5 separate regions of the Homo sapiens genome follow, and regions 1, 2, 3 and 5 are each linked to region 4. Evidence: promoter capture Hi-C in 16 types of primary human blood cells and fetal thymus (Javierre and others, 2016). All regions are on one chromosome and are shown on one strand. The core of a region is centred on a gene start or on the middle of the fragment in contact, and the rest is flanking DNA. Distances in the headings are between cores, read along the strand shown.

Region 1 (3,451 bases), core at 396-2,895, 5.8 Mb before region 4:
GATTTCTTTCACCAATGTTTTGTAGTTTTCATTATTTGAGATCTTGTCTATGTTTTGTTAGATTTATAACTATTTTCTTTTTGTTTTCAGTTATTACTAATACGTAGAAACATGATTGTGTATATTGACTTTTTATCATGTGACCTTATTAAACCGATGAGTTAGTTCTAGTTGCATTTTTGTAGGTTCTTTGTGGGGTATTTTTATTGTTTTTATTTGTTTTGTTTTGTTGTCATCCAGACTCGAGTGCAGTGGCGCTATCATTGAACTCCTTGAACTCCTAGGCTCAAATGGTCCTCCTGCCTCAGCTTCCCAAATTGCTGGGATTACAGGTGTGAGCCATGGTGTATGGCCCTCTTTGGGATTTTCTATATAGACAGTTGTGTTATATGTGAAGAGGGCAGTTTCGTGTCTTCCATTCCAATTTTTATGTTTTATTTTCTTTCTTGCCTCATTATATTGGCTGGGACCTCCAGTGTGAAGTTGAATTCAAATGGTGAGAGAGGTATTTTGCCTTGTTTGATGTCTTACAGGGAAAGCATTCAGACTTTCGTCATTAATTATGGGTGAGAGCTATAGGTATTTGTAAATGCCATTTATCAAGTTAAGGATGTTATCTTCTATTCTTTGCTGACAGTTTATATCATGAATAGGTATTGAATTTTGTCAAATGGTTTTTCTGTATCTATTGAGATGACCTTGTTTTTTTTCTTTAGTCTGTTTATACAGTAGAGGTCATTGGTTGATTTTTAAAAGTGGAACCAGCCTTGCTTTTCCAGGCTAAACTCTACCTGGTGGCAATATATTATCCTTTTTATATACTTTCATATTGCTGTTTTTGACTTGCTAAAATATCATTAAGAATTTTTTTGTGTATGTTTATGAGGGATATCGGTCTATTATTTTCTTATGATGTCTTTGGATTTAGTCTCTGTAATTCTGGCCCATTTTTTTAAATAAGAAGAATATGTCTCTTTCATATTCCTTTGTATGCAAATCCAAATTTCTCTCTGGTATAATTTTCTTTCTTGGAGGATTTCCTTCAACATTTCTGGTAGTTTAATTCTGCTTGTTTGGATTATTTTGTCTTTTCTATTCCTGAAAATGTCTTTATTTTGCCTTAATTTTTGGAAGATATTTTCACTGAGTATAAAATTCTTTTTTTTTTTTATTATACTTTAAGTTTTAGGGTACATGTGCACATTGTGCAGGTTAGTTACATATGTATACATGTGCCATGCTGGTGCGCTGCACCCACTAACTCGTCATCTAGCATTAGGTATATCTCCCAATGCTATCCCTCCCCCCTCCCCCAACCCCACCACAGTCCCCAGAGTATGATATTCCCCTTCCTGTGTCCATGTGATCTCACTGTTCAATTCACACCTATCAGTGAGAATATGCGTACAAAATTCTATGTTTACATATTTTTTTCTTTCGGTACTGATTTTAGGCTTGAACCGTTTCTTACTAGAAGTGTGATTTATTTCTTTGTTCCTCAGTTTATAATGTACATTTTATTTTTCTGCCTACTTTTAAGATTTTTCTGATTATTACTTTTTTAAGTAATTTGATTATGATGTGACTTGGTGTGGTTTTCATGTTTATTTTGCTAGGGCTTTGTTGAGTTTCCTGGATCTGTGAGTTTATCGTTTTCATAAATTTGGAAAAATTTGGGCAATTACTTCCTCAGAAGCACCTTTGTGTCACTTCTCTCCAATTGAAGTTCATTTCAGGGACTCTAATTTCACTTATATTAGGCTATTTAAAGTTGTCTCACAATGTTCTGATCCTTTTCTTATTTTTATCTCTCTTTCATTTTGGATCATTTATTTTCTTATGTCTTCAGGTTCATTATTAATCTTTTCTTCTGTCTTGTCAATATTTAGGGGGCTTATTTTATCATCTGGAGAAGTATGATATGGGTCTTAATTTTAAATTATCTTCCATGTCTGTCCGTAACATTATCAAGTTTTCCTCTACTTCCTTGAGCATGTGATATATACTTAACAGTAATACTACAATGCCCTATTTATAAATGAACTCAGTTATCTATATCATTTCCAGGTTGATATTGACTGATTGATCCTCATTATAGGTTGTATTTTTCTGGTTTTTGCATGCCTGCTAATTTTTTGTTAGCTTTCCAGTGTAAATTTTTCCTTGATCAGCGCTGGATATACTTTTATTTTCAAAAAAATATTCTTGGGCTTTTATCTTTGACTTGGGTGATTTTACTTAGAGACAGTGTGATCTTTTTATTTGCCTTTAGGTTTCGTTAAGTGCAACTAGTGCAGCCTTTAGTTTGATGGCTGATTTTTCTCCAGTATTAATTGCCTTCTGATATCTTTACCCAATGCCTCATGGATTACAAAGTTTTTCACCTCTGGGTGGTAAAATTCTCAGACCCTCCCTGCAGTGAACATTCTCCCTAGGCAGAAATAAGGGCCACTTGGCTGGGCGCGGTGGGCCACACCTGTAATCCCAGCACTTTGGGAGGCCGAGGTAGGCGGATCACCTGAGGTCAGGAGACCAGCCTGGCCAACATGGTGAAACCCTGTCTACTAAAACTACAAAAAAATACAAAAATTAGCCGGGTGTGGTGGTGCACGCCTGCAATCCCAGCTACTCAGGAGGCTGAGGCAGGAAAATCCCTTGAACCCGGAGTGGGTGGGGGAAGGTTGCAGTGAGCTGAGATCGCACCACTGCACTCCAGCCTGGGTGACAGAAGGAGACTGTGTAAATCAATCAATTAATCAATAAAATAAGGGCCAGTCATAGGGCTCACATTGTCTCCTCTTAGAAATTGCTGGCTTTACATTGCCTGTTGTTCATTGTCTGAAAAACTTATTTTTTCCATTGTTTAAGTCAGGAGGATAAGTCTGGTCATGGTTTCTCCATCTTGACCTGAATTTATAGTAATTATCCCAAGCCTTTTTTCATCAGTAATTTTATGTTTACCTATGTCTGTTTTGTTTCTTGATAGTTACTAGTTAAGTCCGTTTTTTCCCTTCTCATTTCTTTAGCCCTTTGATTTCCACTTTCCATTGTGTTCTGTTCTTACTTCATTTTTGAGGTCTCCTTTTTTAACAAAAAATATTTTTTATTTTTCTGTAGCTCAAATGAAATACTGGTAGGGGATTTCCTTTTCTTACTGGATTATATTTATTTCAGACTGAATTCTTCATATGCCTTATATTTTCTTCATTCCTTTTTCTGAGGGGAGATGTTTATGTTTAACTTTTGCTAAAGTATATTTACATAGTTGCCATGACATGTATTTCCGTTTTGTGGACGTTTAATATAAAGCAGCTTTATTCTTACCTTATATTGGTTGGTGTAGTGGTCTGGCTTCTACAACATTCCCTTACTGTGATATCTAAGACTCTTTTCCCCTAGAGCTGTAATTCTAGGGCTGGAAGATCTGGTTCATCCACCTTCTAGAAGTCTG
Region 2 (3,478 bases), core at 564-3,063, 5.7 Mb before region 4:
AAACAATACTAGCACTTTGTGAAGTCCAAGGGCCTACTGCTCAAATTCATCCAAAACAGCTAGAAAACAATGGAAAAATTCTGTTTTTGCTCTCTCTCCCTCCTACCTATTTCCTAATTCATCTCTGCTGACATGAGGGGGATAGAGAAGCAGAGAATGCCAAAGGGCACAAAAAGGGGGGAAAGCTGGGTATGAAGTCTTTGGTGGAAATCACTTCATTTTCTCAAACAATCTGAAGAACAGAGACAAAGGTAACAACACTGACAAAAGGATGACCTTCCAGTTCTTTCCTTCTTTTATACTGCTTCACTTCAGCATACGTTGGTTGTAACATTTCATTAACTCGTAAAGGCTGTTTTTTACTATATAACTTCATTTAACCTCTACGGCCTTGTCTCTGAATATCAAGTTTCACCAGTTGCTTCCAAGCTAATATGTGCCCTCTCTTTAGGACACTTAAGATTTAAAACAGTTTTAGGTCGTCTGACAGTACAATCTCTGTACTTGATTCTGACAACAGACTACCAAAGCCAAGAACAGTTATATAAAATTTTACATTTAAAGGAAATGTTAAAAAAAATGAAAACTTTTCATTTTTGTTTTTCAGAAGAGTAAGGAGAAAATGGAAATATGTAAAACATACTTTCTTTTCTTTCTGTTTTTTGTTGTTGTTGTTTTGAGACAGGATTTCGTTCTGTTGTTCAGGCTGGCTTGCAGTAGTGTGATCTCAGCTCATTGCAACCTCTGCCTCATGGGCTCAAGCCATCTCCCCTCTTCAGCCTCCTGAGTAGCTGGGACTAAAGATGCACGCCACCATACCTGGCTACTTTCTGTATTTTTTTGTAGAGACAGGGTTTCACCATGTTGCCCAGGCTGGTCTCAAACTCCTGGGCTCAAGCAACCTGCCCATCTTGGCCTCCCAAAGTGCTGGGATTACAGGCATGAGCCACCACGCCTAGCCACATTATGCTTTCTTAAAGACTGTCTGGAATTAAGGCATTTCTATTATTTTAGAGTCAATAACATATTTAAGTATAATTTCAATTGTTCAGATTATTATATTCTTGTATTTAATGGTGAGAGGTATTATTTCCCTTTTCAATTTTGTCATATTGCAAATTTCGAGGAAAATTAAAGTTATGTACGTCTCCAGAGATATTATCTAGAGATATTACCAACTGCGTTTTCCAAAACGCAATTGGTAAGAGTTTTTTTTCCCTTGCCTTACACTCAAGGTAGAGAAATAAATTATTTTCCACCATTGAAAAAAAAAACTGCACAAAAGCTTGTCTGGTTCCCAAAACAACTGCTTCTTCTAAAAGTTCTCAATGATTTTCATAGTATAAATGCTAAATTACCTCAACAGAAATACAACACAAGTTTGAAGGAAACCAGAAACCACCATAAATAGCAACTTTCAAAAGATGAGAGTACCTGGGCGCCGGTGGCTCACACCTGTAATCTCAACACTTTGGGAGGCCGAGACGGGTGGATCACTTGAGGTCAGGAGTTTGAGACTGCCTGGCCAACATGGTGAAACACTGTCTCTACTAAAAATACAAAAATTAGCCAGGCATGGTGGTGCGCATCTGTAATCACAACTACTCGAGACGCTGAGGCAGAAGAATCGTTTGAGCCCAGGAGGCAGAGGCTGCAGTGAGCCGAGATCGTGCCACCGTACTCCAGGGTGACAGAGTGATACTCTACCACAAAAAAAAAAAACGAATATGATATAGTGTGATATAGTCTCTGCCACTTGGAAATTCAAAGCCTGTTGAGGACTATTATATCATCATTCCTACCACTCTCATTACATTTTCTAGGGTTTCATTTATTCATCAAAGAAAAGAGAAAGATGAAAGTAACTTATTTTGGTTTTTCCACCTAACATTATTGTTAAAGTTTTACTTTTCAGTATTAGCACTGCTTTTAGAAAAATCCATGGAGAGCACAAATGAGACAGCTGCCTAAGCAACTAGGCTTAGCCCTAGACAACATTTATTCAGAATTGTCCATTGACTTGTGGCAAGCAACATTTTGGTATAAAACTAAATATGATGTCAACTTGCATTAAGTCTAGTTCTATTGGTGGAAGACTGATCTGGGAGCTCAGAAATCTATTAGGGTAGGGGTGTCCAATCTTTTGGTTTTCCTGGGCCACACTGGAAGAAGAATTGTCTTGGGCCACACATAAAATACACTAACACTAATGATAGCTGATGAGCTTAAAAGCAAAATTGCAAAAATATCTCATGTTTCTTTAAGAAACTTTATGAATTTGTGCTGGGCCGCATTCAAACCCATCCTTGGCCACATGTGAGCCTCGGGTTGGACAAGCTTATGTTAGGGTCTTATCTCCAATCTTGGCGAGCTGTATAATTATGGATAAATAATCTCACCTGTCCAAGCCTCAAATCCTCATCTATACAATGATAAGGCTAACCTAGATGATCTCTAAGAGTCATTTCAAATATAATTTTATCTTCATCATTCCTACCACTCCATTACATTTTCGAGGGATCTCATTTATTCATCAAACAATTATTAAACACCTAGTGTGTCTCTGGCACAGTGATCTCACTGAGCTTACATTTTGATTGTCCCACTGGCATATTAGAAAATTGGTTAACACATAAGCTTAAAGTTAATAATGGGATTAAAAAATGGTTAAGTGGCTTGTTTATTTGGCTTAGAACTCATAGAATGATGCATTTACGGATCAGTACGAAACTCTCCACATTTGACAGTACTCAGAAAATAAGAATGTTATTAAAACACTGTTGCTAATCAGAATTTAATAGGCCTACCACTGACATGATACTCTGATTAAAAGCAACTGCCAATATATATAGCCCCTATTTCTGGCCCATAAAAGACAAAAAGGTATGATAAAGTCAGCTTTCGTGGGGAGAGAATCTCAGTCCAATCTCTAACACGAATACGTGTCTGAGTAACAGTCTGTACTGATCCTTCTTGTCAACTTTTAATCCTTCTAACTGATGAAAAGCATGAGACATGTGTTTATTTTAAGTACATGCTAGTGGCTGGCTTTCTTATTTTCACCTAGCTTTGTACAATTGTACAGAATTCATTAAATGCTTAATAGAAACACTCACGCCCCCCTACTCAACTCCAAGCAGGGAGTGGGGCTAAAAGGATAACTCAGTTGCTCATAAAGAACACACAAAAATTAAATCCTAGAAGGAAGTCGGAAAAAAGAACAAATAATAACACAAGGCAAACTATGGTATTACAGAAGTCAAAACTTCAGGGTCTTAATATGGTGCTCACTCCCTGTTAAGACAAAAGTAAATAAAACTAAGAGTTCCTATAATAGGAGAACAGGAAAGAAAGGAGGACGGGAGATAACATTTACTCAGCACTTAACAGGTGCCAGGCACTATGCAGGTAGTTTTCACTTATTCTTCTCAAGAACTACACATATGAAAATATGCCTCAATAGGTGATCATCTACAAT
Region 3 (3,230 bases), core at 390-2,889, 5.8 Mb before region 4:
GTTGGGTTTGGGGAGTGCCTGATATATAACTGCTCGCCAAAGGAAAATCTTTAAATAAAGCAGAGGGCAAAGAGAGATCACAGTCTAGTCAATGTGTCAACTTAATCTTAGCATTATATTAACAGCTAGGAAAGAGGGCAAAGAAAATAATGAGACTTCTGATGTCTAAGCACCCATGAGTAAATGCATTGTACTCTCATTTCTGTTTTGTGATATTTATCAAAACTATAGAACTGATCTGACTAAAAAGAAAATTTTGAGTTCTAATTGACAGAATTAAAACACATAGTCATAATACTACATGTTGTTTCCTAGGCCACTCAATTAGGATAAGGAACTTTTTTCCCCTTTGTTGATTCTTAGTGCCTCAAAACTCTATAAAGTATGAAGTACCTTTCTCAGGGCAGGATTAAGATATTAAGTTGCTTATTACTGCTTTAATGTGTCTGGGACAGAGCTTCTGAGAGTCTGCCTAGAGAAAGCAAGAAGCCCTGGAAAGGCTCTTAAAAATATTCTTGCAATTAGTCAAGATGGCCCAATAGGAACAGCTCTCTGCAGCATTCAGCAAGTTCAATGTAGAAGGTGGGTGATTTCTCCATTTCCAACTGAGGTACCCAGCTCATCTCATCGGGACTGATTAGACAGTGGGTGCAGCCACGAAGGGCAAGCAGAAGCAGGGTGGGGCATCACCTCACCCGGGAAGTGCAAGGGGTCGAGGAACTCCCTCTGGTAGCCAAGGGAAGCCGTGAGGGACTGTGCCATGAAGAATGGTGCATTCTAGCCCAGATACTATGCTTTTCCCACGGTCTTCACAACCCACTGACCAGGAGATTCCCTCCAGTGCCTACGCCACCAGGGCCCTGGGTTTCAAGCACAAAACTGGGTGGCTGTTTGGGCAGACACTGAGCTGGCTGCAGGAGTTTTTTTTGTTTTTTGTTTTCTTTCTCCAGATTTTAAGCATGTCTCTAAAACACTTTCTCCTATTGGCATTTAATCCATGGTTGTATTCATATAAATATCCAATGGGAAAAGTTCACTATTTTGGACTCCATTTGTATGTGAAAGCTACTTCTTAAAGGATATTTCCCCACCCCCCGCTGCCACATAATATGTTAAGTGACTCTAATTATGTTTTTTCTCTTACTAAAGACTACCATTTGGAATTGCTGAACAATGTGCAGTGTCCAGCCATGCCCGTATCAAAGCATACCATAGAACTGAACTATGGAGTACCCTCCCATGGCATCTAAACTGCTGGATGAGTATTGCTGGGAAGTGGAAATGTGCATAGCATTTGTATAAATGATGCTGGGAATGCTTTCTCCATGGCGGAGAAAATAGGTAGAGAGAATTCTGCTGTCAGCTCTACAACCACTGAGATGATTTTTAAAACTGGATGATTCCTAGAAAGACTGGATTCTGCCACAAAATACAAGTAAGTCAGGCCAGCTAAGGCAGAAAATTTCCTTCAGGAGATGTCGATTAAAAAAATGGCCTGTGGTTGGCTCATAAGCTTCATCTGACATTACATCTTTAAAAAGATAGGACTTTTCTGGAGGAAAGGGACAGACCCATAAGCAATAATGGAAACTAGTGGAAGCCAGCCTTCACTATAACAGGACTCTAGGTGGGAGCCTGCGAAAAATAATAGAACAAATGACACAGCCAGATGCTACCAAACAGCTAAGCCTAGGATTTCTGCAGGTGATGCAAAGCGGGTTACGGGATATGAAGACCTTAATACTAGAAAATATTAGGAAGCTTTATGGAGAAATTAAGACCTTACCAGTGACTTATCAGGTTGGTCCTGAAGGGGTGTCCATACTTTCTTGTCATCACTTTTGAAGTTAAAGCAAATCTTCAACAGGGTAAAAACTGTGAGGAAAAAGTACCCAAAGTTCTTAATCACTCAGTAGAAAGAGCTTTAGGTATGAATTTGCCAAAGTGTTTTACGCAATAATGGACAATACAGTCAGTGGAGTGAGGTGTAGAGAATTGGGTAAGAAGAAAAAATCACTGTCTGAAGTCGCTTGAGATCAGGCCACTTAAAATGTCAGGGCCTCTGGATATCATTCTATTCTTACAATTAATTCTGGAGGAAAGAAAGCAGCTAAGGCCATAGAAATTCAGGTGAATAAAAAAGAAATCAGGATAAATTGGCTAAAATAACATAATGGAATATATGGATTACTGGAAAATAAAGTCAAATCTGGCAAATTTCATATAGTATCATATAGTATAGTACTTTGATAGCCTAAATGATTATCAGAATATAACATTTATCCTTCTTACAAATCTCTCATATCTGATTTTTATATAAGAAATCAATTTAGGTTCAATACCTAAAGCAAATGCACAGGCTTAAAACCACTTTATCTGAAATATCTAAATAACTTATACAAAGAAAAATATGATTGCTTCCTTGTTTAGCTTGTATCACCTGGATAATTGCCTCGACTTTCTCCTTCAGCTTACAGACCTGCATTGTCCAATATAGGGACTACTGGACATTTGAAATATGCTGGTCCAAATGGAGATGTGCTCTTAATTATATAACACAACCAGATTCTGAAGACTTATATGAAAAATAATGTAAAACATTCTATTAAGAATTTTTATATTAATGTCATTGAAATATTTTGGATATAGAGTTCAATTAAATGCATCTTTAAAATTAATTTCATCCGTTTCTTTTAATACATCTACAAAAAATTTTAAATTACAAATGTGATTCACATTTCATTTCTATTGGAAGGTGCTGATTTAGACGTTGCCTTAATAACATGTTTAATAAGAATTCAAAAATCTGATGAGTGCCAAATCGAACTAGTTGATTCCTTTCTGTAGCACAAATAAATAACGTTTTGGGTGAATGAATGTGAAGAATTTCTTCAGTATATAATTTCATTATTTTATCAAGGTCAATACATCTGCCCTTGAAAAGTGAAATGTTTTAGAAATGTCATTTACACTTTTTCAAGAAGTCACTCCCTTCTCAATGATTATAAAATAGTACATTAAATATTAGACACATATTTGAATTTGCTATCCACTTTATTATTTACACAGTGAATATTTCCTTTTTTCCTGAATTTATGTATGTTCTGCCTGAAATAAACTTATTTTTGTAGACATCTATTTCACTGGTATAAACATATCTGCTTGTTATGGAATTATAGGCTTAGATTTCAGCAAAATAAGAAAATCTGTGTGGAAAGAATATTGTTCAT
Region 4 (3,329 bases), core at 154-2,653:
GCCTTCATTTCCATGGGGCTGGGCGCCTCATTAGTGAAAGTAAAAGACTGCACAAAGCGGGGGAAGTGCCAACTAGAGAGCCCTCACAACCAAACAAGCAGTACTTAGGTCGGAGGGAGAGAGTTGCTCCTGACCTACCAAGAAAACCACTTTTGTACAGAATATGAGTCATCATTATTGGGTGTTGTAATTGAGAGATAAATCATTAGTGTTTTTGTCTTTTTTAAAAAACATGTCTAAAAAGCTCAAAAGTAAATGCCAGTGTCATATTCTTTTGTTTGTTTTTTGAGACAGAGTCTCGCTCTGTCGCCCGGGCTGGAGTGCAATGGCGCTCTCGGCTCACTGCAAGCTCCGCCGCCCGGGTTCACACCGTTCTCCTGCTTCAGCCTCCCGAGTCGCTGGGACTACAGGCGCCCACCACCATGCCAGGCTAATTTTTCCTTTTTTTGTATTTTTGGTATTTTTTTTGTATTTATTATTTTGTATTTTATTTTGTATTTTTTGTATTTTTGGTAGAGACGAGGTTTCACCGTGTTAGCCAGGATGGTCTCGATCTCCTGACCTCGTGATCCGCCCGCCTCCGCCTCCCAAAGTGCTGGGATTACAGGCGTGAGCCACCGCGCCCGCCGCCAATGTCATATTCTTTAGACATATCACTGTCATTTCACAGCTTTCAAATACTTCCATCTCCTATGTATTATCGATGAAAACCTAAGTTTTCATCTTAGAACGGAGCTGCCCGACTATTAGAAGCGTGGAACCCAGGCTTGCCTTGTCGTCGGGAATGAGCACTAGAGGCACCTGCACGCAGGTGGAGGAGGGAGGCTGGCGGATGGAGAGGGCGAGGCTAGGAGGCCCTCGGGATGGAACCTGTCTCTTCTTTGGACACTGTGGAATTTCCATAAGCTGCTGGACACAGCTGATGGGTACCAGGTATGAGTGGCAACGTTTGGCAATTCCATTAACTGAAAAGAACTACCGAGAAACGGTGAGGCGGGGCGGCGAAGATGAGACCAGCTGCCCATCACTCCAGAGGACCTGCTGAAAGAATCTGAACTCACCACGCCTTCGCGTCCGCAAGGGAAAGGTCCGGCTGCCACGCCCCCGCGACCGCTGTCGCCCTGGGGAAAACACGAGAAACACCCGGCACCGCCAGGTTCCAGAGACCTTCGCAAAGTAAGGGGTAAATAAAAACCGTGGCCCCAGGAACTAGTAGTTCCCAAAGGGACCAAAACCGAGGCTCCCCCAACCTAGCCCGTGTTCACTCCAACTTACCCATTAATGTGGCACTCTCCGATGCCCTGATTTCCCAGTCCCCAGCGGCGACGTGTGTGGCGGGTAACAGAAGGGCCGCCACTCCGCCCCTGGCGTGAAGCGTAGCGACCCAGTTCGCAATCCAAGATGGCGGCCACCTGCGCCCCTTCTCCGAGACCCCGAGGCTCGGCTCCCAGAAGCCCTTGCACTCGACGCGGCGGCGGCGGCGGCGGCGGCGGCGGCGGCGGAGGAGGAGTGGTGGCCGCACATCCTAGCAGTGGGGCGTAGAGAAAGTGCGCGCCGCCGTCCCACCCACCGAAGGAGGAGCCTGTGCCTGCGACAAGCCCTGGATTTTAGTTGCGCTTGCGGTGGCCATGCTGTAGGTACTCTGCGGCCCGTAGACCTCCGTGTGTGCAAAGGGACGACCCCTCATTCATTCATTCTTCACGCGTGCGTGCATGCATACATTCTTAAGGATATAAACTGTGTCAAGTACCATTTTAGATACATTATTGGGGCTACAACAGTGCAAAAAAGTTGGTAAAAATCGCAGCCTTGTTAAGTGTACGGAGAAGCTCACGTTTTCTTCAGCTTCATTAACTTTTATATGCTCTGCTCGTTTTATTTCAAGCTTTTTGTCATTTATAATTTTATATTCTATAACATCTGCGGTTTTTTGTTTTTGTTTTTCTGTTTTTGGGGGGTTTTTTTTGAGACGGAGTCTGGCGCTGTCACCAGGCTGGAGTGCAGTGATGCGATCTCGGCTCACTGCAACCTCCGCCTCCCAGGTTCAAGCGATTCTCCTGCCTCAGCCTCCCAAGTAGCTGGGACTACAGGCATGCGCCACCACGCCCAGCTAATTTTTGTATTTTTAGTAGAGACCAGGTTTCACCGTGTTGGCCAGGATGGTCTTGATCTCTTGACCTCCTGATCCGCCCGCCTCAGCCTCCCAAAGTGTTGGGATTACAGGCATGAGCCACCACACCCAGCCACATGAGTGTATTTTTGACAGCAATGTAGTCACCAATAAACGAGTAACTTCAGTTAAAGTACTGTAGATTATAATACACAGCCCTGTAATCTACCCTGGAGTTCAACAAACGGTATTGAAAACAGACTGTGTTCCAGATGCAATAGGAAGAGAATAAATAAGATAAACAATACATAAATCCTGCCCAGAAGACGTTTGCAATTTTTTAAGAGGAAAAACATGAAGACAAATTGTTTTAAGATGTTTGCTATTTTCAATAGTTGAAAAATAAACAGGAGAGAAGGGATTATTTAACTGTGGGTATGTAGGGCTGAGAAAGGCACGCTTGACAAAGGAAACCTGGGCAGTGTTACCAGAAAGCGTTGCCAATCATGAGTCCATATAGTGAAGTGAAAGCAAGTTTATTAAAGAAGTAAAGAAACAAAAGAATGGCTACTCCATAGGCAGAGCAGTGGCTTGGGCTGCTGGACTGAGTATATAGTTTTTTTGTGTGTTGTTTGTTTGTTTTGACACGGAGTCTTGCTCTGTCGCCCAGGCTGGAGTGCAGTGGCGCCATCTCGGCTCACTGCAAGCTCCGCCTCCCGGGTTCACGCCATTCTCCTGCCTCAGCCTCCCGAGTAGCTGGAAATTTATTGTATTTTTAGTAGAGACAGGGTTTCACCGTGTTAGCCAGGATGGTCTCAATCTACTGACCTGGTGATCCTCCTGGCTCGGCCTCCCAAAGTGCTGGGATTACAGGCGTGAGCCACCGCGCCCAGCCAGTTATTTCTTAATTATATGTTAAACAAGGGGTGGATTATTCATGAGTTTTCAAGGAAGGGGGCAGGCAATTTTTGGAACTTAGGGTTCTACCCTCTTTTAGACTGTATGACTTCTGGATGTTGCCATGGCATTTGTAAACTGTCATGGTGCTGGTGGGAGTGTCTTTTAGCATGCTAATGCATTATAATTCACGTATAATGAGAAGTGAGGATGACCAGAGGTCACTTTTGTCTTCATCTTGGTTTTGGTGGGTTTGGCCTGTCTTCTTTACGACATCCTGTTTATCAGCAGGGTCTTTGTGACCTGTATCTTGCGTGGACCT
Region 5 (3,342 bases), core at 656-3,155, 5.2 Mb after region 4:
AATATAAAAAAGATAGAGGCCCAGTTTACTAGGTGTTTTAAAATGGTTTTGCTTTTTTGCATGCTTTGAACTGCTTCCATGAAATAATGGAGTTCTAGGAAATAATGCATCTTAGGAAAGGTTGTTCTTCCCTCTAGCTATGAATTGCCCTATGGGATTTTAGATAGCATTTCCCACTTGATGCTCCTTGCCCTCATCACCATTCATCTTATTACTACAGTCAGTTTCTGTGGACTACCAAGATAATAGCGCTTTCCCAAACACAAGCACTCATTTTAAAGCAGTTATCTTTTAATGTGAATTCTCTTTGTTAAAATGTCAATGTTGTGAGATTTGGTAGCATATTCCTATTTAAACTAGTGAATATGATTTTGATATGAACCTTGAAAGATGGGGAATTTGAGTGCTTTTAACGTGTTGAAAGTGTAACACTTGAAACTTTGGAGGCTGGGAAATCGAGGCGATGAAGTGTTCTATAAGATAGGTTTTCTGCCCTTTTAAATATAGTGGTGCTGTCTTTGTTTCCAATTGGAATTTCAGTGTAATGCACTGTTCTCACTTCAGATGCAGAGGAAGGATAAAATAGTGAAGTTGATATGGCCCTGTTCAGCCAAATTTCCGAATCATAAAGTGACATGCTAATAGGATATACTGTGGCATTTCTGTGTATTACAGCTTGTATGGTTTGAGTTACTTTTCCACACATAATTTTTTCTCCTCCACACAAGTCATTAAATATGTTTTCCTGAGAGATAGTCAAGCTTTGTTGTATAGGAAAGTTTCGTTTGTGGAAATAAATGAGTTTCACTGTAAGCTAATGTAATTCTATTACGTGAGGAAATGTTCCTTAAAAAATAAAGAATATTATATACTGTTGTTTTCCTGAATATTTTTTAAAAGACACATTAACTATTTCCTATTTAATCCTTCATGGACATCCCACAATAGATTACCAGCACCTTAAAAAAAAAAAAAAAAACAAAAACGAAAAAACCAAAGACTAAAAACCCCCATTGGGGTTTTTTTTTTGGTACATACTTTGAAATTTATATTTTAAATGAATTAAAAAGTAACACTTTTTATATGTACATTGAAAGACATAAAACTTGATACAGAGAAAGTCAAATTTTAAATTGTTAAGGATTATCAAATTGAATTTGCCATGTAGTTCACAGTTTCCAACAAAATGTTTGTTTCAACAAGAAAAAATTTGAAGTCATTGGCATACATTTAGAGTTTACACTTTTCATAAACCAAGCCAGCATTTTTATTAGCACGTCAGAAACTCCCAGTGAGATTAATATTAATTAAACATAATCAAAAACTGCAGAATTACCTGCTTTTGAATTATCTCCCCAAGGAAAACTAGTCCAATAAAATAAAACTTGAAAATTATTAATATAAAAGAGAGGCCAGTCTGACTTAGTAAAACTCTGAATGCTAGAATTTTTAATGAAGACAGATTTATTTGAAAGTAAAGATGTAAACATAATGCAAAGATATAAACATGGTTTGTATTATATCTTTATAGTTTATATCTTTACTAACAAGTAAAATAAGGTAATAAAAATGTGTAACACATGATAAACCTATGCTACATAAAATAGCATAAACATACTTTTTTCATATATAAGAATTACTTTGGGAGGTCCTTAATGCTTTACTTTGGTTTGGAGAGAAAATGTTTTAAAATTGACTTTGCTTTACAAATGAGATCCTGAAAAATAGCAACCAAAGATATTTTTTCTCAAATGAAGTGGCCGTTTCAAAATTATATTACAAATTCTGAACTGATTGGATTAATACCCTTTTACTAGTTTAGTTTTTCTATTATTGCCTGAAAAGCATTTTTCTGCTTTAGAAAACAGTCCAGTTGACTTTTGATTGTTCTGTGTTTTGAGGACGTATCTTGAGTAATTTAAGAAATAAAGTGTTTTGGGTTTAAAAGCTCCCATGTCTTAAGTTGGTGAAATTTGAAAAGGTATTTTTAAAAAGAGGGATATTCAGGGCTGGGTGCTGTGGCTCATGCCTGTAATCCCAACACTTTGGAAGACAGAGGCAGGAGGATCGCTTGAACCCAGGAGTTGGAGACCAGCCTGGGCGACATAGTCTGTACAAAACAAACAAACAAACAAACAAAATTGGCTGGGCGTGGTGGTGTGCACCTGTAGTACTAGCTATTTGGAAAGCTGAGACAGGAGAATCGCTTCAGCCCAGAAGGTTGAGGCTGCAGTGAGCCAAGATCACGCCACTGCACTCCAGCCTGGGCAACAGAGCAAGAGCCTGTCTTAAAAAAAAAAAAAAAAAAGGCGGGGGGGGATATTCAGATTTGAATGGTAAATCCTGACTGATTTAATCCCTTGCCAACTGAGGATATTGATTCCTAAGGGAATCACTTAAAGTTTCTTCATCTGAGTTATGGAATTTTTTAAAAAACAAAAACAAATTTCCTCTCCATTTTTTTAACTAGTTTTTAAAATGTCTTGAACATTATTTTGACATAATCAAATTGAGCAGTATCATTTGTAGAATAAATTGTTAATTTTTTCTTTTAGAACAACATTTTGGTAACTTGTTTTAATGGAGGGAAGAAAGGTTGTGAATAAAGTATAGGACAATGTTTTTTCATTTAGATTTGAATATAGGTGTGACCACTCAGAGGATTCACTACAAATGAAATCATCAGGCTTCATTTAAGGATTTGACTGAGGTGGACTTGGGAAGCTGTCCATTTTCCACATCTCGACTTTTGCTTAGTTGCTTGATGTAACTCACTTCATGCTGAGTTTAGACAGCTCTCACAGTTTCCTCAGCACCAGGTTAAACAGAACTATCCTTTCAAAGAGCTTCCCTGCTGAGATGCAGAGTAGGAGTAAATAGAAGAGTGTGGGATGTCCACAAAGCAAGGAATTAAACAAAGTAGGCCAGACAGACTATAGAGGGAGCTGCTTGTCTTTAAGATTACTCTAAGGAACTCTGCCACTTCCTCTAGCTTAGTGAATATTTTGGTAGATTGTTCTAGATACTGTTAGCCATGAAATCAAGCTTTTCAACATAAGGAATTGATAATTCTGAAATGCTATATAAGTTTATGTAGATGCTTATCCAATTATAAATATATTCTCATTGTTTATATTTTATAAAATTAAATATAAGAAACTACCAGAATAACCTTTTTTTTTTTTTTTGGTAAATTGGAGTTAAATTTGCAATAAGAATAATTTTGAAAATTAGCGTGTATCAACAACTCAGGTTCAAAAGTTTCTCTAATAGAATCTGCTTTGTTCATAGTCTGTTTTTTACTAAGCTATTTAAAAATATTTTAAGATCATATAACACCTA

What was found. The method cuts DNA at HindIII sites, captures the fragments that hold promoters and counts their contacts. A CHiCAGO score of 5 or more calls a contact.
Region 1: a fragment that was not itself captured here is called in contact with the fragment with the promoter of KPNA5 in region 4 in 5 of 17 cell types (total CD4 T cells, total CD8 T cells, naive CD8 T cells and 2 more); the score reaches 13.8 in total CD4 T cells.
Region 2: a fragment that was not itself captured here is called in contact with the fragment with the promoter of KPNA5 in region 4 in 8 of 17 cell types (total CD8 T cells, total CD4 T cells, non-activated CD4 T cells and 5 more); the score reaches 14.1 in total CD8 T cells.
Region 3: a contact is called between a fragment that was not itself captured here and the fragment with the promoter of KPNA5 in region 4, in 2 of 17 cell types (non-activated CD4 T cells and total CD8 T cells). The highest score is 11.5, in non-activated CD4 T cells.
Region 5: a fragment that was not itself captured here is called in contact with the fragment with the promoter of KPNA5 in region 4 in 1 of 17 cell types (total CD4 T cells); the score reaches 6.6 in total CD4 T cells.

The regions. Positions count from the first base shown.
Region 1 is chr6:122,459,378-122,462,828 of GRCh38, reverse strand. The region is part of intron 1 of SERINC1 (serine incorporator 1); the gene reads left to right. Among named protein-coding and RNA genes, the nearest start is that of SERINC1, 11 kb to the left of the region's middle. The HindIII fragment of the contact is 9,444 bases long and covers 1-3,451 here.
Region 2 is chr6:122,400,807-122,404,284 of GRCh38, reverse strand. The region is part of intron 1 of HSF2 (heat shock transcription factor 2); the gene reads right to left. Among named protein-coding and RNA genes, the nearest start is that of HSF2, 2.9 kb to the right of the region's middle. The HindIII fragment of the contact is 1,052 bases long and covers 1,288-2,339 here.
Region 3 is chr6:122,476,496-122,479,725 of GRCh38, reverse strand. It overlaps a transcript of PKIB not described here. Among named protein-coding and RNA genes, the nearest start is that of SERINC1, 6.3 kb to the right of the region's middle. The HindIII fragment of the contact is 248 bases long and covers 1,516-1,763 here.
Region 4 is chr6:116,679,285-116,682,613 of GRCh38, reverse strand. KPNA5 (karyopherin subunit alpha 5) reads right to left here and starts at 1,403. Exons shown (of 14, transcript NM_001366306.2): 1 at 1,276-1,403. The coding sequence starts at 1,279. RefSeq lists enhancers at 1-822, 823-1,806. The HindIII fragment of the contact is 1,991 bases long and covers 1-1,887 here.
Region 5 is chr6:111,478,476-111,481,817 of GRCh38, reverse strand. All of the region lies in intron 1 of REV3L (REV3 like, DNA directed polymerase zeta catalytic subunit), which reads left to right. Among named protein-coding and RNA genes, the nearest start is that of REV3L, 3.1 kb to the left of the region's middle. RefSeq lists an enhancer at 2,452-3,176. The HindIII fragment of the contact is 2,284 bases long and covers 764-3,047 here.